2 separate regions of the Homo sapiens genome follow, and region 2 is linked to region 1. The links are contacts of gene promoters, found by promoter capture Hi-C in human tissues and cell types (Jung and others, 2019). All regions are on one chromosome and are shown on one strand. The core of a region is centred on a gene start or on the middle of the fragment in contact, and the rest is flanking DNA. Distances in the headings are between cores, read along the strand shown.

What was found. Contacts are between HindIII fragments. The study calls those that stand out against the background at their distance.
Region 2: a contact is called between a fragment that was not itself captured here and the fragment with the promoter of SLC30A5 in region 1, in 1 of the 25 tissues and cell types used here (lymphoblastoid cells).

The regions. Positions count from the first base shown.
Region 1 is chr5:69,092,649-69,095,348 of GRCh38, reverse strand. SLC30A5 (solute carrier family 30 member 5) reads right to left here and starts at 1,335. Exons shown (of 16, transcript NM_022902.5): 1 at 1,011-1,335. The coding sequence starts at 1,093. RefSeq lists silencers at 553-847, 893-1,182, 1,513-1,622 and an enhancer at 1,313-1,412. The HindIII fragment of the contact is 15,344 bases long and covers 1-2,700 here.
Region 2 is chr5:69,291,685-69,294,384 of GRCh38, reverse strand. It overlaps CCDC125 (coiled-coil domain containing 125), which reads left to right. Exons shown (of 12, transcript NM_176816.5): 10 at 2,023-2,197. Among named protein-coding and RNA genes, the nearest start is that of CCDC125, 40 kb to the left of the region's middle. The HindIII fragment of the contact is 3,532 bases long and covers 1-2,700 here.

The DNA.
Region 1 (2,700 bases), core at 86-2,585:
TATGTCTATAATCCCAGCTCCTCGGGAGGCTGAGGCAGGAGAATCTTTTGAACCCGGGAAGCGGAGGTTGTCGTGAGCCGAGATCGCGCCATTGCACTCCAGCCTGGGAACAAGAGCGAAACTCCGTCTCAAAAAAAAAAAAAAAAAAAAAAGTTACGTTATAATGCTATTACTACAGTTCTAAAGAATTTATCACATTTATCACTTTCTTTAAATATCAAAGAAGTATTTATTCCAGAATGGGAAGAACTCGTTAAAAATGGAGGCAAAGAACACCAGTTCCAGCCAAATTGCAGGGCTGTATTTTGTGCATTTTCGACACTATCTCAGAACTTAGGAAGGATACACTAGAAAGTGGTCGCTGCACCTGTTGGTCCCTTACTTTTCGGGTTGGTGGGAGAATTGAAGAGAGGAAGTGGGAATTTTCACTTTTTACTCTATGAATTGCTTTGCTGTTTAGATTTTTTTTTGACAACGAGGACACATTTCTTATTTAAGAACAAAATAAAAAAAGAAAACGGGGCTGGACCCTCGATGTGCTCAGTTAATCTGAACATCCAAGTTCCCCTGAACATCCAAGTTCACGTATGTACTTTGGTTTCGTCGCCTGAAGAGAGCTGATGGTGACACCTTCCCCTAATTTATGCAGGGAAACGTCAGAAAGGTTAAGTAGTCGCCAGACTATTTCAGGGAGAAACAGCCAAGAGAAAGGCTTCTCACAGATCAGAAAAACCTCTCACGTGAACTGGCGGGCAGTTCTAAGACTGACTGTCTGCCTTGTAACCCAGAAATTCAAGCAGAAGCTTTTTGGCTTTAGCGCCTTCCTTCTGCAGCAGGCACCCGAAGAGCCCGGGGAGCCCGGAGGCAGCCTGCGCGCAGGGAGGCAGGCAGGGGGAGAGGGCGCGCCGACCCCGGGACGTCCCGGGCTGTCAGCGGAGACCGGAGGGAGGCCGGAGAAAGTGCATCCTGAGCGACCCGGCCGGTCGCTGCCTTCCGGATCGGTCCCTTACCGAGCGCTGGGTACGTCCACCGGCCCAAGGCCGCCGCCGCCGCCGGGGCCGGCCAGCACGTCCCCGCCGTATTTCTCCTCCATCCCGGGGCTCACGAGCCGCCGCCGCTGCCCCTGTCGCGGGGTCTCCTCATGTCTCGCCGCTGCCGCGGAACAGCGGGTGCAGGCGCGTCACTCCCCCATGGCAGAGACCCCGTCGGGCTCCTGCAGGCCGGGCCGCCACTGCCGCCGTCGCCGGCTCCGGCTCACTAGCACACACGCGTCGGGACTAGGCCGCGATCAGTTCCGGCGGCGCCAGGTTCCCGGGAAGCAGCGGCGGTAGGGACGTTGCCAAGCCACGTCATCAGGCCCAGCAACCCTCACTCCCGGGGGAGTGCCCAGCCTTGCGTCTGCGCAAGCAGAACACTCGCCTTTCCTCGTCCCTTAGGCTCCTCCCGCCACGTTGTGTCGCATTGAAGCTCCGCCTCCTATCAGCCTCTCCGGGTGGCGCTCCCTGTGCACTTACCTGTCCCTACAGTGCCACCTATGGGCCGTCAGAAGTACAGCGGATTCCTGTAGGGCAGAGGGGGAGGGCGTGGAAAATGTACAGCGTGTGTGATTAAACAAAGCTCACCAATCTTTTCCTCTGCGTTAGGGATTCTTTTTTTTTTTGTTTTGAGATGGAGTTTCGCTCCTGTTGCCCAGGCTGGAGTGCAATGGCGCGATCTCGGCTCACGGCAACTTCCACCTCCCAGGTTCAAGCGATTCTCCTGCCTCAGTCTCCCAAGTAGCTGGGATTACAGGCATGTGCCACCACACCTGGCTAATTTTGTATTTTTAGTAGAGACGGGGTTTCTCCATGTTGGTCAGGCTGGTCTCGAACTCCTGACCTCAGGTGATCCACCCACCTCGGCCTCCCAAAGTGCTGCGATTACAGGAGTGAGCCACCGCACTCGGCCTAGAGATTCTTAATCTAGGTTAACATACCCTCTGCCTCTAAGTTTTTGTGAGTATGGATCATTTTTGTGATGAGAAGGCCCGAAGTCTTAAAAGTTCACGTGCCCTTCCCCCAACCAGAGATAACTATTTTTGAAGCTGTAGAGAATCAATTACAAATAGTGGTACGGCCATTTCTTTTGAACAATGCCTTTGATGGACTTTGGAGAGGAGAAACTAGTATTGACCAAAATTTGCCTCCTCAGCAAACTATCCCAGGGCAATTTTCTAGGAGTGACCACGTGCGAAACTTCATGGCCTTCTCTCCTACTCCTAAGGGAACCTAAAGGCAATTTCCAGATTTCTAAAGAAACATTCTTATCCTGGGCAACATGGCAAAACCCTGTCTCTATCAAAAATACAAAAACAATTAGCCAGGCGTGGCATATGCCTGTGGTCCCAGCCACTCAGGAGGGAGAGGCGGAAGGATCGCTTGAACGTGGGAGGTCAAGGTTGCAATAAGGCATGATCATGCTACTGTGCTCCAGCCTGGGCAACAGAGCAAGACCGTCTCTGGAAAAAAAAAAAAAAAGAAAGAAAAAGAAAGGATTCTTCTTTGCCACAGGGAGCCTGGGGTCATCTATCAAATAAAGTAACGGAGGAAGGTGACTGCTTTTGTGGCTTTTTGTGTGGGGCCTGGAGTACTGGTAACCGTTGTTGCTAGAGGCCCTGGAATCCAACTGTGTGAGGACAGAACATAGGAGAAGGAAGAGGAT
Region 2 (2,700 bases), core at 68-2,567, 200 kb before region 1:
AGTGAGCCGAGATTACACCACTGCACTCCAGCCTAGGCAACAAGAGTGAAACTCCATCTCCAAGAAAAAAAAAAAAAGTACTTGGCATGATATTTGAAGCTACCTAAAGTCATTTGCCTAAGTTCATAATTAATATTCCTAAAATTTATATGTTCTCATCTATACATGTCCCTAAAATTACTATATAATAGAAGGAAAATGTACATTTATGCTTAAAATCACTAGGATCAGCAACACTGATTAATGGAGAGATAAGCATGGAATGTATTTGAACAGCAGCAAGGCACAGTGAAAGGAACCTTTGTCCCAGCCAGACCTAGGTTTGCATCTTTGCTCCACCATTTACTAGCTGTGTGGCTTTGGACGGGGTAGGTCTTAGTTTTCCTACTATATTAAGTGGAGGGTAATAACTACCTTGGATGATTGTTGTGAGGAAATAGACATAAAATGTTTAGCACAGCACCATGAACATGCCAGACATTAATTCAAATGATAGCTGCCATTATATTTGGTCTTTACTTACAAATACAGTAGTACATGGACCATAATTCTAAAATGTTTTACCTTTATTGAAGGTATGGAATTTAAAGTCCTTAGGTGTGGCAAACCACCATGGCACACATTTACCTAGGTAACAAACCTGCATCCTGCACCTGTATCCTAGAACTTAAAATAGAATAAAATAGGACAAAATTAAATTTAAAAAAATTAAAGTGTTTGGGTTTTTTTTTTTTTTTGAGACGGATTCTTGCTCTGTCGCCCAGGCTGGAATGTAGTGGTGCAATCTCGGCTCACTGCAACCTCCACCTCCTGGTTCAAGTGATTCTCTGCCTCAGGCTCCTGAGTAGCTGGGATTACAGGCGCCTGCCACCACTCCCAGTTAATTTTTGTATTTTTAGTAGAGACGGGGTTTCACTATGTTGGCCAGGCTGGTCTTGAACTCCTGACCTCGTGATCCACCCGCCTTGGCCCCCCAAAGTGCTGGGATTACAGGCGTGAGCCACTGAGCCCAGCCAAAATAAAATCTTTAAAGTATATAGGAAAGCCAACATTTGGACAGTAGCCATTCATTAAGAAAAGCATGAGGGGGCAATGGGTTACACCTGTAATCTCAGCACTTTGGGAGGCTGAGGTGGGAGAATCACTTGAGCCTAAGACGTCACAGTTACAGTGAGCCGTGTTCACATCACTGCACTCTAGCCTGGGTGACAGAGTGAGAGACCCTGTCTCCAAAACAAAAAGAAAGACCGGGCGCAGTGGCTCATGCCTGTAAACCAGCACTTTGGGAGGCCGAGGCGGGTGGATTACCTGAGCTCAGGAGTTCGAGACCAGCCTGGGCAACACAGTGAAACCCCATCTCTACTAAAATACAAAAAATTAGCCAGGCGTGGCAACATGCGCCTATAGTCCCAGCTACTCGAGAGGCAGAGGCAGGAGAATTGCTTGAACCCAGGAGGCGGAGCTTGCAGTGAGCCGAGATCACGACACTGCACTCCAGCCTGGGCGACAGAGCGAGACTCCATCAAAAGAAAAAAAAAAAAGAAGAAGAAGAAAAAAATAGAAGAAAAGAAAAACATGAGATTACATTGATCAAAGTCAAGGTCATCTATAAGACGTATTTGAAAGGTCGTATTCATCATTATTTTCAGTGGTGTGGTCTGGAATGGCCCAAAGCTGAGTTGAAATGCAGCCTTTGGTATCCTCTTATCTTTCATGCTGGGCCCTTTGTCCCAGGACTTGAGCAGGACACACACACAGGGCCTGCATGGGGTAGTGAGGTCCAGGGGTTAGGTTAGCAGGCAGTTGACAGGCACCACAAGGGAAACTGATAATCTGGATCAGAGTAAGTTGCTACTGCAGAAATAGCAAGCATTAATTAGCGTAATCAGATAAACTAGATCAGACCACAGGCAATAAACCAGTGCTAGGCAGTGAGATTGCATATGTTAATTTGATTCCCCATTCAGCAAGAATTGTTCTGGTTTTGCCTCTGACACCTCCCAAACTGTCTTTCAAAATCAGTTGGAAATTTTGCAGAAGAGTAAAGAAGAAGCTTACGTGATGGCAGATGCTTTCAGAATTGCATTTGAGCAACAATTAATGAGAAAAAATGACCAGGCACTACAATTGACACAAATGGATAAAATGCATAAAAAAGCAACAAAATGGATGAATTGGAAGCACCTTAAAGAGGATGGTAACTATGAATTATAATGGCAATAAGTGGGTGTAATTTTAGTTGTTTTGTTTATAATCCAAGTTGATGAAGCACACTTAATCCAATGTGGGCAAAAATAATTGAAACTTCACATATGGTTGTGGTTTACTTAAAAACTTAGCAACTATGGAAAAAAAGGAGTCATTGGATATTACATGTGCAGGTGAACTACTGGAATCCATAAACCATAACATAACAGGAATATTTATTTTCTAGTACTCTTCTGTTTCATTTAAATAAGACCATGTTTAGTGAAAAAACTTTACAATAAAAGTGCTAGGTGATTAAAAGGAAACTGCCAAGAAGGAAGTAATGTGAAAAATGTCACTTAAACATGACATTAAATGTATCTATCTAATTAAACTTTATTGAAATGTATGCTTTTGAGAAGGAAATTGAGGAATAGAGGAAAAACCTTAAGTTGGACAAATTAATAAAATATTCTTAGAAAAAATGAAGCAGAAGTTTAGGTTTAGGTTTTG